Linked DNA regions of Homo sapiens: regions 2, 3 and 4 are each linked to region 1. The links are contacts of gene promoters, found by promoter capture Hi-C in blood cells and fetal thymus (Javierre and others, 2016). All regions are on one chromosome and are shown on one strand. Each heading gives the region's core, a stretch centred on a gene start or on the middle of the fragment in contact. The rest is flanking DNA. Distances are from core to core; before and after follow the strand shown. Region 1 holds the start of HINT3 (histidine triad nucleotide binding protein 3). Region 2 overlaps MTCL3 (MTCL family member 3). Region 3 overlaps ECHDC1 (ethylmalonyl-CoA decarboxylase 1). Region 4 overlaps RNF146 (ring finger protein 146).

What was found. Contacts are between HindIII fragments. The CHiCAGO score rates a contact against its expected background, and 5 or more counts as called.
Region 2: a contact is called between a fragment that was not itself captured here and the fragment with the promoter of HINT3 in region 1, in 7 of 17 cell types (total CD8 T cells, non-activated CD4 T cells, naive CD8 T cells and 4 more). The highest score is 9.7, in total CD8 T cells.
Region 3: a contact is called between a fragment that was not itself captured here and the fragment with the promoter of HINT3 in region 1, in 1 of 17 cell types (total B cells). The highest score is 9.3, in total B cells.
Region 4: a contact is called between a fragment that was not itself captured here and the fragment with the promoter of HINT3 in region 1, in 3 of 17 cell types (naive CD8 T cells, naive B cells and erythroblasts). The highest score is 7.2, in naive CD8 T cells.

The regions. Positions count from the first base shown.
Region 1 is chr6:125,954,676-125,958,363 of GRCh38, forward strand. HINT3 (histidine triad nucleotide binding protein 3) reads left to right here and starts at 2,095. Exons shown (of 5, transcript NM_138571.5): 1 at 2,095-2,503. The coding sequence starts at 2,303. RefSeq lists enhancers at 2,108-2,207, 3,268-3,317 and a silencer at 2,378-2,597. The HindIII fragment of the contact is 9,214 bases long and covers 1-3,400 here.
Region 2 is chr6:127,514,831-127,518,518 of GRCh38, forward strand. MTCL3 (MTCL family member 3) reads right to left here. Exons shown (of 7, transcript NM_001400265.1): 2 at 684-1,872; 3 at 1-217. The coding sequence starts at 1,784. SOGA3-KIAA0408 (SOGA3-KIAA0408 readthrough) reads right to left here. Exons shown (of 13, transcript NR_174482.1): 2 at 684-1,872; 3 at 1-217. LOC107986642 (a long non-coding RNA gene) reads left to right here. Exons shown (of 2, transcript XR_001744337.2): 2 at 1-470. Among named protein-coding and RNA genes, the nearest start is that of MTCL3, 2.7 kb to the right of the region's middle. RefSeq lists an enhancer at 1-501 and a silencer at 1,189-1,418. The HindIII fragment of the contact is 242 bases long and covers 1,967-2,208 here.
Region 3 is chr6:127,298,538-127,302,225 of GRCh38, forward strand. The region is part of intron 5 of ECHDC1 (ethylmalonyl-CoA decarboxylase 1); the gene reads right to left. Among named protein-coding and RNA genes, the nearest start is that of RNF146, 34 kb to the left of the region's middle. The HindIII fragment of the contact is 1,869 bases long and covers 1,076-2,944 here.
Region 4 is chr6:127,282,537-127,286,224 of GRCh38, forward strand. All of the region lies in intron 2 of RNF146 (ring finger protein 146), which reads left to right. Among named protein-coding and RNA genes, the nearest start is that of RNF146, 18 kb to the left of the region's middle. The HindIII fragment of the contact is 1,288 bases long and covers 907-2,194 here.

The sequences.
Region 1 (3,688 bases), core at 845-3,344:
ACTCTCATGCTGTGACCTTGCTCCTAACCATTCTTCATTAGAAAATTGTTAAATGTCTACCTCCATGCAAAGCACTGTGTTGCAGGATTATTTAGGAATCAGAAAGACCGAGGGGTTGAGGAGGATTTATTATTTAGGTGCACCGGCACAGTCAGATTAACATCCGCTGAGCCCCGAACAAAGGGTCAGGTTACCTTTTAAGCATTTCGTGGGCAGGGGGCAGTTGGGGGGAGATCTGTGCAGGGGGAAGCATATTACAGAAGTAAGAAAAATGACAGTTATTTAATTGAGATATGCATTACATAATTTCTTACTTTTCAAGGAAAAACATATTTTATGACTTGAGTTTATCTGTCTAGTGACTTTGCAGCTGCACAGCTAGAGAAACAGGGTCTTCACAATGCCTGGGAAAGGGAGAGATAAGGCTCACTAGCCACAGATAGAAAAACAGGCAGTTAATTTTTAAAGGACTCTACCTCTTTCTCCTCCTCAGGGGGAACTGGGTTTTCTTACATACAACTGAGTTTTTGCTTACATATTCTTTAATTCCTGTTCCAACTGTACTAGGCATTATGGAAGATTCACACACCCAATCTTGTTGCCAAGAAACATAATTCCTAGCAGGATAAATAAGTACATAAATAGCTATAAGATACAAAGAGACAAATCCTACAAGAGAAATATTGAAAACCTGTTATATGAATTTGCAAGAGGATGTGCTTATGTCAGTTTGGCTAAAGAAAATTTCATGAAGGAGGTAGCATTGGAGGGGTGGCTTGGAAGGTAGAATTTGGAGTGAAGAGATGGAAACAAGAATATTTGAGAGAGAACTGTGTGAATAAAAGCAGTGATGTGAAGGTGTAGTACAGGCATGGAAATTGTGAATACTAAAATTTGGCAAAACTCTAATGTATTGATTCTGAACTCTGCTTTGGGGTGCTGAAAGGCAGTGAAGCTATTGTAGTGGTTCCCCAAACTACGGGCCAACTACAAAAAGGAATGAAAAATGTCTTGAATGTATATGTACAACAATTCAAAACACATACAACCACTTTTTATTACAACATAAATCCATTAAAAATCATTACTGAATTCCCAATTTGTTATGTATTTTCTAAATCAGCAAATACCAAGGGTGTAACTACTATAGTGAGCTAGTCCAACAAATTTTTTGGTGTTAAAAAAGGAGTGCTGTATGTCAAAAAGGTTGGTGGGTTTTGGAGTTAGACAAACCTTGATCTTAAACTCTGTCACTATTAATTAGTTGTGTGGGACTGGGCAACTCTGAGTTTGGTCCTTCATCTCTAGAGCGGTGGTTATAAAACCAACCTTGCGTTTTTTGACAATTAGAGAAATATATGGCATGTTTTAGATGCTCAGCAAGTGGGAAGTATCACAAAACGAAAAGCTGAGGTCAAATCAGAGTCCACCTTGAACACCAAGCTAAGGAACTGGTACTTTTTCTTTGAGCACATAGTTACAGAAGGTTTTGTCTGAGTGACAGGAAAATCAATAAGTAAGTTAGAAGGTGATTGCGTTGGTCTAGGTGAGGCATTATGAGGCACTGGCATTGAATTTCTGGGATATTTCAGAGTATTGACTATAGGACTCCACATCTACTTGTATATGAGGAATGTGAGATTAAAAAAAAGGTCGCTAGTTTGATCTAACTGTGCTGTTAACAACAATAAAAAGTCAACAGAGATGTAAAGGTCAGTTTTGGACATTTTGAGTTTAAACTCCTACAATTATCGTGGCTGAAAAAGCAGCAAACATGATGTCTGTTGAAAACAAGGCTTTAGGAATTTTGCTCATTCTTTAAAAACCTACGAATTTTAAAAATCAAACTTTAAAAAACTTTTTGTTTTTTTTTTTAAAAAAACGGCAGCGTAATACAATATTTGGACACGCTATACTATGGGCTTTGAAGAACGCCTGTCCAGAACACCCAACAAGCTCCATTATGTCAAACGCTCCCGCGCCTCTGTGATGTCACCACGACGCGCTGGGCGCTCTGCGACTTGGCAGACGTCGTGCGTCATTACCAACGAGGCGCAGGGGTCAGGACGACTCTCGGCAGCGCCATTGCGCGCCCTCTAGTGGCAGCCGGTTTTGAGGCCGGCCTCCGGCTTTGAAGTTCCTCACCGCGTCTCCTTCCCTCTCCCCAAAGCCTGGATCACCGCCCAGCGTCAGGCGAGGGGCGACGTCTCGAGGTAAAACGGAGGAGGTGCGGGACGCGGAGACTGCGCGGGCCCGGTAGCCCTGGAGAGGCCGAGGCTCTAGGCCGCGAGGGGCGGGTGCAATGGCGGAGGAACAGGTGAACCGCAGCGCCGGCCTGGCCCCCGACTGTGAGGCCTCGGCGACTGCAGAAACTACGGTTTCCTCAGTGGGGACCTGTGAAGCCGCTGGCAAGTCACCAGAGCCCAAGGACTACGACAGCACCTGCGTGTTCTGCCGGATCGCGGGGCGGCAGGACCCGGGCACCGAACTCCTGCACTGCGAGGTGGGCGGCGACGCGCGGCCGGGGGTGGGTGAGGACCTGGCCGCCCCTCGGAGCTCCGGCAGGGAGGCCTCGCCGTTGTGGAGCGGGTGCAGAGGATCCCGATCGCTACTCAGCTCGCAGAGGCAGGGCCGCTCTGTGTGGATGGGGCTCGGGGAAGCTGGGGATACGCCCACTACGGGCCTTTCTGCAGGGTCCGGGTGCTGATGACAGACTCACTCCTAGGGGACTGACAGGCAGTGGCTCCAGCGGTATCTTTGCTGTTCCCAGGGGCAAAGAGTGAATGACAGGGCCGAATGCTTTGGCCTATGTTTGCAGGTACCCAGGTAGTTGGTACAAATAACATTTTGTGGCCTCTGCTTTTATTACAAGGATTCTTCTCCACCTTCAAGATACTGATTTTAAATCCTGCACACTCTAATACCGATACTGATGAGAAAACTAGTAGAAAATAGGTAATGATAATTGTGGAAAGCTGTTTGTTAGATTGGCAGAAAATAGGCTGGAGGGAGTGGGTCTGAGGTCAAACTATTATTGAATTGCCTCTGAATTCCACTGTCAGTTGGGATGCGTGGACATTTTCAGAGCATGAAGACTTTGCCCAGATATTTTTAAACGGATAATCTGGCACACACTTTATTCTGTTGGTTTTACTTGTCCATATAGAAACAACTTTTTGAGAGAATTAGCTCCAAAGATTGTGTCTTTTGTAGTAAACATTCCTTTATTTTTTAAAAAATAAATATAATTCCTTCTAAGCACCTTGTTTTGGAGGTTTTTGAGCAAGATAAGGGACAGTCTGTGTCCCGATTTTACAATCTAAAGGGCGGAATGTATACAGAGGAGGTAGCCAGTTACAATGCCTCGTGCTGTGGTCAGGTGATTTTACAGTATTTTGTAAGCTTGTGGGAGGAGCATCTAACCCAGCTCTGAAGAATTAGGGAAGGCTTTCCAGAGGAAATGAGACATGAAGAAATAAGTAGGAGTTGATCAGATGAGGAAATGGAGAGAATAATGTCCCAGGTTGAGAGACCCCCCGAGAGGTTCAGTTTGTGTGATAGAAAAACTAACAGAAATTGTCTAACTAGTGCATAGAGTTTGAGAGGATGAAAGGCGAGGCTGGAGAGGTAAACAAGGGACCAGATTATTAAGTGTGTTGGAAGTCATGTGAAGGAATTTGTCTTTATC
Region 2 (3,688 bases), core at 838-3,337, 1.6 Mb after region 1:
CCTGCTCCAGGCTGCGCAACAGCTCCCCGTCGATTTCCCCGGTCTGGGCGTAGCGGAGCCTTTTGCGCTCGGCTTTGCGGAGGCGGTACTGCAGGATCCGGCAGTTTTTGTTGGCTCTCTCCAACTCGTGGCGCATTTCCTGCAGTTGACAGGCATCCTCCTCGAAGAAAGTGTCCCTCATCTCGTCCATCTCGGTTCTCAGCTCATCGATCTCGTTCTGAGGCGGTGACAGGCCGCGTGTCAAAATCAAACTCGCTTCCAGCCCTTCCGACACACACCGTACACACCCCATTCCAATTCCAAATTCTCAGCTTTAATTGCCCTCTCTCTCCACGAGACAGGAGTGACAAGGAGCTGAGTACAGAAGAGGAAACTGGGGGAAAAAGGCCCACTTTAGGCCCTCTCTCGTTCTCTTACTCTACCTCTCTCCAGGAAGAAGTGTGACAAACCATTATAATTAGAGAAACGGAGGCCCAGATTTGAATTTAAATGAAAACCTCGCGTTACTGAGAGCAGATTCAAATTCCGGCAAGGCCTAGGAAACCCCCTCCCTCCTTTCTTGTTCTCCTCCCTCTTCAAGGCTCCCTAACAGGTTAGCAGCCTCTGATCCCTGCCGGTACACGCCCTAATCCTCCCAGGCCCACTCTTCCCATCCCCCAGCCGGGTCCCCCCACCCTCCTCACCTTGAGAGTCTCGTTTTCCTCTCGCAGCTTCTCCATCTCCTCTTGCATTTCTTCCTGCTCTTGGAGCTGCTGCGGGTGCGGCTGCGACGAAGGGGGCGCTGCCGCCTGCATGCCCCCGCCGCTCGCGCTGCCCTCTGCGCTCTGCTGGGGGCCCTCCGCCGCCGCCGCCATTGGGGAGGCGGAGGCGACGGCCAGGGTCTCGCAAACGGCAGGGGGGCCAGACACCGGGGAGCTGCGGCTACTGCTGCCGCCGCCGTTCTTAGCGTGCATCTGAGCCGCGGCCGCCGCCGCTGCCGCCCGCTCCTTCTTGAGATGGAACTGGATGAGCTCAGACTGCAGACATCCTTCTTTCCAGTAGCTCCCTCCACCACCGCTGCCGCCCCCCGCAACGCCGCTTCCGGAGTTTCTGCTGCCGGTTCCTGGGGTTTTGCCCGCAGAAGAGGAGGATGGAGAAGGGGAGGCCCCCTCCCCGCCGCTGCCGCCCCTCTGCTGAGCGCGTACGCCTTTCCCTCGCCAGCCCCTGGGCGGCGGCGGCTGCGGAGCGCCCCCCTCCCTTTCCCCGGAGCCGCCGCCGGCTCCTCCTCCTTCCCCGCCCCCTCCTCCCCCTTCTCCGAGCGGAGGGGGTTCCCCGAGTTTCGAGGGCACGGACTCTAGCTCCCGAGGCGGCTCCTCGGGCGGTCCGGGCCTCCTGCCGCCCAAAGCGGCCAGGGTCGCGGCGGGGGCCGCTTCAGCACCAGCCACAGGCTGGACAGCTCCCGGAGCGGCCCCTTTGGGCGCCAGGGGCGTCGCCTTCTCGGCCCCACCTCCGCCTCCTCGGATGCTGGCGGGCGGCCCCGTGCGGCTCCCGGTCTTGTTACCCTGCTGTTGCTGCTGCTGCAGCTGCTGCTGCCGAACAGAATTGAGTTTAGTGCCGGCCCCCACTGGGGACCGGGTGGCCGCGATTGTCTGTCGCAGCGAACTGTCCCTCGGTCTAGCGGGTGACTGAGCTCGCTGCTGCTTTCTGCTGCTGCCCTCCGGGTGCAGACGAGCCTCAGTGGCTGCAGCGGCGGGAGAAGCTGCTGCTGTGGCAGGGGCAGCGCCCCCGATTGGTGGCTGACTCATGGCTATGAACCTACCAGATGCGATTTGGAAGAGCCCATTACTAGATCATCCTCTTCCCTCTTCACCGCCGCCAACCTTCCTTCCTAAGCTGGGACAGAAACAAAAGGAGAGAAGAAGACAACATGTCTGAATTTTTGCAGAGCAAAGGGTGATATTGCTCCATTTGGATGGCGCTTAATAGAAGCTTTGACTTTAGGAATAGGATGCAGGGCTGTCTTTAGGAATAGGATGGAGGGCTGTCAATTCTCATTTTGCCCAGGGTGGCGCTGTCTCCATCTCACTCCACCTCAGCAAAATGACGGATCTGAAAGCAGCTGAACCTTACATTCTCATGGTAGCAGGCTTTGGAAAGGGTGAGATACAGAGTCAGACAGGAATTGATGGAAAGGGAGATATAAAAGAAAAGAGGATAAAGTGGAAAAGAAGCTTCAGAAAGAAAAGATATCCATATATTAGAGTTGTCAACTCTGCTTTTACAACTTTGGCTTTCCTTACCATCAAATCCATATGTAAAGCCTAGTTTACTGGAGAAAGTTTTCATTTAATTAGTATTCCCAAGTTCAATTAGAGGAAAAGGGTTATGATGTAGGGTTCCTAGAGAATATTTTCTACGGATAAATGACACTTTCCCCAGGCAGCTCCAACCCTTAATGTTGTTTTTGGGAAAATGCACCCAACTTCCTTTATAATAGAACTAAAAGAAAATATAAATAATGAATGCCTTTAAATCAATCTCAGTTTCAAGAAAATAATAGCATTAAGAATTGTCTATATGGGTTAGTTATTAGCAACCCAAAAACGTATTTTTTCCCTTTTGGGAAATAATTTTTAAAATACATTTGGAAAAGTTGTGGTCAGTTCTGCAGTTTCCTAAGTTTCTGGTGATGAATTTTCCTATGCTTACCCAGTTTTGTAGTCTTATGAATCACTTTAGTTTTAAGTGTAATTGCTAGATAGAAAATATTTTCATTCTTAGCCATCTTCTTACATCGCATATCATAGGCAAAAGTTGTACTTTTTAAAGTGCCCATTTCCTCCTATATAGCAATTCTGAGACAGAACCCAGAAGGCTGGTGCATCTTCCCTCATGGTGGTAAGATCAATTTCCAGTATGTGTATTTCCAAGATAAATCCGTCACTAGCTTCTTTAATCTGAAAAATAGCAAGTTACTGCCTCATGGGTTCCTCTCCCTAGGGATCCAGGCAGCTAGTCAATTAGTTGCCTTTTCCTTAAAATTATTTCTGTCTAAAGCACTGAAAGGGGCATGACTAGGCATAAATTTCTCCTTTAAAAATATTTGTTCTATACAGAGAGCAGATTACTTTACTGCCAGTTATTTTACTTGCATTATTCTTGTTAACATCTATTGTTAGCATCACAACTTAGCATGCAGTAATTCCTCATTTTATAAAGAAATATTACCGAAGGGTTCCTAATCCACCTCCCTTTCTGTTTCTGGCATCTCCTTCCAACTCACTTTGAAATATAAAGGTGAACAAAGAAGACATCGGGGGAAAATTGCCCACCAACTTGTTTTCTACATCTTCTCTCCCAGTCGCGATACTACTAGAATGTCTGGCCTAGTTTATCATCATGGGTGGCACTAACATGGGCTATCTAACTAACTTATATTGCCAATGCAAACTTATTTTTGTTTTTAATCAGGCAGAATAATTCCAGAGCTGAGAAGCCAATGTTTAAACTCAGCCCTCAGACAGCATTAACCCAGGCGAAAGCTTGTGTTCCAGTAACTGGGCTCCACAATCAAAGGTATCCGGCTGCTGTCACGTGGTTCCCACAAAGTGACAAGATGCTGCATCTCTTCAAGGCTTTCCCGGTGAAAATTATCACCCAACCAACCCCTGCACGGCTTAGACCAACACTTTTAATCTCAAGTTTTATC
Region 3 (3,688 bases), core at 760-3,259, 1.3 Mb after region 1:
AGGTATAATTATGTTTAAAATAATGTCTATATCAGAGAATCCTTTATAAATAAGGTATACAGTCATGCACTGAATAACAACATTTTAGTCAGCAATGGACTGTATGACAATGATCCCATAAGATTATAATGGGGCTGAAAAATTTCTATAGCCTGGTGACATCATCGCCATTGTAATGTCATAGAACAATGCTTTACTCACATTTTTGTGGTGATGCTGTTAAAAACAAACTTACTGCACTGCTACCTGTACAGAAGTATAGCACATACAATTATGTATGTTACATAATACTTGATAATAATAAATGACCATGTTAATGGTTCGGGTATTTACTGTACTATATTTTTTTTTTTTTTGAGAAAGGGTCTCACTCTGTCCCGCAGGCTGGAGTGCAGTGGTGCCATAATGGCTCAATGCAGCCTTGACCTCCTGGCCTCAAGCGATCCTCCTGCCTCATCCTCCCTCAGGAATGGGACTACAGGCGTGTGCCACCATGCCTGGCTATTTTTTTTATTTTTTGTGTCTCACTATGTTGCCCAGGCTGGTCTCCAACTCCTGAGCTCAAGCAATCCTCCTGCCTTGGCCTTCCAAAATGCTGGGATTGCAGGCATAAGCCACCACAGCTGACCTATACTTTTTATGTTATTTTAGAGTGTTATTTTACTTTTATATGTAGAAAATTAAATGTAAAATAGCCTCAGGCAGGTCCTTCAGGAGGAATTCCAGAAGACAGCATTATTATCATAGGAGATCACAGCTCCATGCATGTTACTGCCCCTGAAGATGTTCCAGTGGGGTAAGATGTGGAGGGGTAGGACAATGATATATGTGGAGGGGTAGGACAATGATATGGATGATCCTGACTCTATGTAGGCCTAGGCTAATGTGTGTGTTTGTCTTAGCTTTTAATAAAAAAAAAAAAAAACTTTTAAAAAAGATGAATAAAATAAAAATAGAAAAAGCTTATAGAATAAGGATATAAAAAAAGAAAATACTTTCGTTCAGCTGTAAAATGTGTTTGTGTTTTACATGAAGTGCTATTACAAAAGAATAAAAAAGTTTTTTAAAATTAAAAAGCTTATATAGTACAAAAGTTACAGTTAATACTGTCTTCTGGAATTTCTTCTGAAGGACCTGCCTGAGGCTGTTTACATTTAATTTTTTATGTGTAAAAGTAAAAGGAGTACATTCTAAGTGTACAGTAATGTCCTAGGCCTTCACATTCACTTGCCACTCACTCACTCACTTACCCAGAGAGACTTTCAGTCCTGCAAGCTCGATTCACCATAAATACCCTATATGAGCATTCAATTTTTTATCTTTTATACAGTATTTTTACTGTACCTTTTCATTTAGATACACAAATACTTACCATTGTGTTACAACTGCCTATAGTATTCAATACAGTAACAGGCTTTACAGGTTTGTAGCCTAGGAGCAATAAGCTATACCATATAGCCGAGGTATGTAGTAAGCTGCACCCTAGATGGTATCATTAGGTTTGTTTAGCTACATACTATGATGTCTGCACAACAACAAAATCACGTAATGACACATTTGTCATAATGTGTTCCTATCATTAAGCAATACATGACTGTATGTGGGTACTATTACTGTTTTCTAAAAAGCATCTAAGCAAGCATTTAAAAAAATAAAAATACAGTTTACAAAATTAACTTAGAGTAACAAAGTTAGCACTTTTCACTGGCAATCAAACAGAAATATAAAAGTTAGCAACAAATCTGACAATTAAATTCCCTATGCCAAGCCCATACGTGGTAGGTAGATTGGCCCCGAAGAGATGACCTAATCTCTGGCAACTGTGCATGTGTTACCATACATGGCAAAAGAGACTGCAGATGTAACTAAAGTTAAATCCTTAAAATAGGAAAATTATCCTGGATTAACTGAGTGGACCCAATCTAATCATGAGAACACTTAAAAGCAGAGAAATGTTTCCAGCTGTAGTCAGAGAAATGCAGCATAAGGATAAATAAGAGAGATTCAAAGTATGAGAGGAACTTGACTCACCACTGCTGGAGGAGCCACATGGAAAGCATGAGAAAGAATTCAGAAAGCATCTAGGAGCAAAGACTCATCCCCCATCTGGCAGCAAGGAAACAGGGACTTCAGTCCTTCAAGTGCATGTAACCAAATTCTACCAGTTGGAACCTGGGTGAGCCTGGGAATGAATCCTCCCCTAGAGTCTTCAGAGCCCACTGCAACTGACACTTAGATTTTGGTCTCATGAGACAAGGTTTAGAAAAACCAGCTGAGCCCAGCTAGACTTCAGACCTATACATCTGTGAGATAATAACGTGTTGTTTTAAGCCACAGAATTTGTGGTAGTTTGTTATAGCAGCAATAGAAAACTACATGTATTAGCATTTTCTTAATTTATATTTCATTCTAAATATCTTTAATTTGTCAAGGTGGATTAAAAAATGAGAGGCTATATTACCACATTTCTAGCTTTTCATTTCCTCACATTAATTTTGTCACTAAAATGGAAACATAATGCTTGACTAGATTCTGACCATTGAAAAATACCAATTTTTAATTCATGTTAGTCTTTTACTTTTAAAAATGTTTTTTAAAAGCCATTTTCTCTTGGAATATTTTACATGAAAAGTATGACTCAAGTGAGGGTCTATCTATGCAAAGTAGAACTGAGTGTTTCCGACATACGTATACATTACATCTATTACCAGCTGGTGCTCACAGGGTTTTGCGGGAAGGGGACAGTGTTAGAATGCTACATGAGTTCATTTCTTTTATATATTCATATTAAGTGTATCTCCATCTGCTGAAGTACTTCCATTGGCATGGATGAAAATGTCAGTTGAGTGAATTCCAGGCAATTCTCCAAGGTAAGAAAGTTAAACAAGCGAAAAGGGCCAACACATATAAAGAAGGAACTTATCTTTTTAGCAAACGCTATGAAAGCTTTCGGTGTTTTTTTAGAACAAGCAGACATTCTTAGGAAATAATTAAAATAATCTGTCATAGAAAGTAACTGATGAGGTACTGATAAAATTAAGTGGAAAAAATCAGCTAGAGGAACTTGTACTGATTTATCACTTCCTGGAAACTGGGGCTAGTAATGTAGTTCATTCAGTATGCAATCCTCTCTATTAGCCTCTAACATTTAAGAACTATAGTTGCTTTTGGTATGCGGGTTTTAAAAGGGCTGAGTAGCCTAGGACAGTGCTTGTCAAATTTCTCTGGTCAAGGATCAATTTCTTCTTCATTTTTAAAGAAACTTTCTAATCGATTGCAGACCAATAATTTTGTAAAATATAACAAAAACATATTACTAGAAAAATGAAACAAAAAACCAAGACACAAGGTTTGTGAATGGCTGTGCCTAGCACATGTGGGTGCTGAAATATGTTTAATAAACAGACACCACTTTCAGAAAAGCTGGTTCAAAAATGGATAGGTTTTCATCAGAAGCTTCTCAACAAAAGCACCTGGTATATCCAGATACTGAGAGTAGGCAGTACCCTCAGACATCTTGTAACAAATAAAATTAAATATTTAATGAAGCTCTAGGATGCATTACATTTTCTTCAATTAGAGAATGACAGCTAGGCAATTTAGCAGTATTAAAGGATTAAATAATCTCTGATTATTTTTCCTGCTATTGTGCTTTTTTGTCCTAAACCCTAACTACACTTAAACATAG
Region 4 (3,688 bases), core at 301-2,800, 1.3 Mb after region 1:
TTGGTGAATGTGTCACCATCCATCAGTAATCAAATGCTTTCATTTCTTTTTCCTTAGCATTCTTCTATTCTATTGTTGGAAACTTACATCAGCAACCTCCCTCTAATTATCTTATACTTGCATTACTACCTGGATATTCTAGTTTCCCTTTCGCCATACCTCCTCCTGCATTACCAAACTTTCCTCCAACCTGCTGTTCAAATGGTCTGGAAGCTACTAAACTGGCTGTTATTTCCTGACGTAAAACCTTTCAGTGAACTCCTCTTGTCTCATTAGTGGTTCATATGTGGACCAGCTTCATAGAAATCCTTAAGCCCCTTGAAATTATATGTAGGATTGTTCCCTTTTTGTGTGTCTGTAATTGGATTCTAAATTCAGACTTTAAAAATCTGATTTTTAATATTTGGAGTTTTTATTGCAAGCTAAAAATTTCTTGAATACTACACATACTAAAGATCTTTTTTGCTTATAATAATTTTGCCTTTCATTTGACTAGTTGTCCAAGAAGTTTCAAGGAAATCTGAGTTCTTGGAGATTTCCACTAACTCTGCCCATACCCCTCTATATTTTGTCTTCTTGAGAAGAAGACTTAGTATTAATAGACTCTTATTAGTCTGGCAGAAATATTTCACATGGTTTATCTATTGGAAGAAGGGGATTTATACTTAAAAGTTGGAATATCACATGAAGAATTCAGTAAAAACGTCTTTGAAAGTAAATGATGTATTATACTTATTAATAGAATTGGACTAACGTCACTCCAAATTTCTGTGTATTAAATTCTTAGTTTAGTAAACTGGAAATAAATTCCCTTTTTCAAAATTAGAATTTTCTGAGACATTTATGAGATAGGGAATACCTCTTTTGATTAGCATTAATACTTGCTCTACACAAAGGGAGGGGAAAAGCTTTCTTATTTACATATTGGTATGATCATCTGCATACATTTAGTCTCCCACCTATTTTAAGATCATTGGAACTGCAAAACAGAGACTGTGTAGGGTAGATTAAAATGGTTTTTTAAAAAGCCTTGAAGTATGTCTTATAGGTAGACTAGCAGTTTGGGGTTACTTTGTGTCTATCTTGTTACACATTTTATCTCTATCTTACTTATTGCATGTGCCTCATTCAGAATTAAATAAGAAATATCACTAAGTTTTTCTGCCCATTTGTTAGTTGGTGATAGACTAACAGTATACTTGATGGGCTAAACAGAATCAGAATTTATAAATTGCTATGGCAAATTGATAGTTAAGAGTGCTTCAGATGAAATAATGACCATTTAGCTGTCTGGTGTCCATTGTTTGCAGATTAACTTTGTCCAACTTCACTTCATTCTGATGATGGAACCAAAATACCTGCACAAACAGGATTGTTTTGCCTTTCCAATTATGTTATTATAATTCATGCCTTCTCCTGGGATGATTGTAATTGCTTTCTTAGTTTTGAAATTATGTGTTTTGGTTTATTCATAAATGCAAGAGTAAGAGTCATGCAAAATATTAATCATATTAAGTAGGGTGGAGGATAATGTTTTTAGGTTGGAAACTTTTTTTTCTGTAGATAAACGAGCTGTATGTGATGGAAAACTGACTTCTTGGGCCCATTTTACTTAAAGCAAATACAATAGGTTTGGAATTATGTATTTAAAAGCATGGCATTGGTCCACGTGACATGTTGGGTGTCTTGTTTTCATTTTACCAGACTCTGTTTTTATTTATGTTTTCAGTTTATGATCCTGTCCTTTGTTCATAAGGTACTTAGATGGTTTAAGATGTAGACTTCTTATATGAAGATGTTGCTGTTGTTTTTCCAAAGTAATGGTGGTCATCAGCCCATTTTTCTATTTAGTCTCATGAATAGAATCATGAGTAGAATCTTTCTTAAATTATTACTTGTAAATGGATCACTTTCTTGTTTTCTTTTTCTTAATTGGAGCTTTAAATAAATATGGAACTTGGAACAAAAAGATTTTCAGGAATTTTATGGAAACTAACTTTTTTGACCTAAATCGAAAGGGATGAAAGTTTCTGAAAACCTAACAAAATGTGTGCACAGCCAATTCTTTTAGGGGAGGAAATAGGCAGGGAATGTGTAATTGGCTATTTTAAAAACATATGCCTTCTTTTGTAACTTATTGTTGTTTCAAGTTACAAGATCTTTGAAGGCAAGTGTTTATCTCAAAATATTTGAAAGCTTTTATAGTGCTTAACATACTAAGACGTCCTATTAGGGTTTACTTAGAACAAGCTTATCCAACTTGTGGGCCACATGTGGCCCAGGATGGCTTTGAAAGCGGCCTAACACAAATTCATAAGCTTTCTTAAAACATTATGTGATTTTTTTTTTTAGCTTATCAGCTATCATTAGTGTTAATGCATTTTATGTGTGGCCCAAGACAATTCTTTTTCTTCCAGTGTGGCCCAGGGAAACCAAAAGATTAGACACCCCTGACTTAGAACTTTCCATAGGTTAGGAGAAAGTTGTACTTTCTTGATGTCTATAACCTAGAATTTCTGGTAAAGGAATTGATTGGAAATGTTATTAAAAGTTGAAAATAATTTGGAAATTAAACATTTTAGTGATCAGTTCTTCCATTGAGACTGTGTTGGTTCCTTTACTAGATATGTGCCATCTTTTTAAAAACTTACTGTGTTGCTTCCTTTACTAGAAAATTGCCATCTTTTTGAGCCTTGTCTATTGAGGAACCAAGAACACAGAAAAGGCAGTAAAAAGAAAAAAAAGGATTGTTTGAAGATTGAATGTGCTGTGATGATAGCCTAGGATTATTGTTTTTCAATTTTTGATGAGCGTAAGCATTCTTGTTGACTATATCTTTTGTAACTACTGACCCATTTAGAATGGCAGAATTAGCTGGCAGAGAGATTGTCATTCATTTTAAGCTTTCAATCTCTGACATCTTCATCTTTATTTCTCAGTCTTTTTTACTTATCAGTGGTTTACTCCATTATTTTCTCCCCTTTTAAAATGTCTTTTTTTTTTTTTTTTTACCATGGGGAAAAAAATTAGATGTTTCCTTGGCAGGGCACAATAACACAATAAGGCTTTCATGACTTAACTTTTGATTACCTTTACACCTTCATCTCCTGCTCTTCCATTGCTTGTATGACTATTTGACTCAGTGTCTTGCATGTGCTTCTGCCTGGAATCTGCTCCACTGCCCAGCCCCTCTGAATGAACACTAAACTTTCTAACCTATGTCCATCCTCTCATCTCTCTCTTACTGTTATTTTAGTAAGTATGTTAACACATTTTGATTACGCAGGAATCAGGCCATATTGTAATTATCTGCATGTATGTTTCCTTATTTAACAGAGTAGTTGTGTGTCTTATTTATCTTTAGACCCATCAGTACTTAGTATTGTATCTGGAACATGGCAGGTGTTTAGTAAATGTTTATCTGAATCAATAAGGCAGAAATTATAAATTTTATGTCAGTGTTTAAGCTAGATACATCCAATTTGACAAATCTTTTTTCTTCTTCCTCTTCAGGGGATCTTCAATATTCATGTTATTTTCTCCTTTGGTCTTATATGATTGTTACCTTTATGAAGCTTTAGTGATTACAAAGCACTTTTTTTGTCCATTTTTACCTGAGCTTTGTAAACTCTGATTTGCAGGTAAGGAAATTTAGACTAATGGTTTAACTGAGTGCCTAAGAGCACAT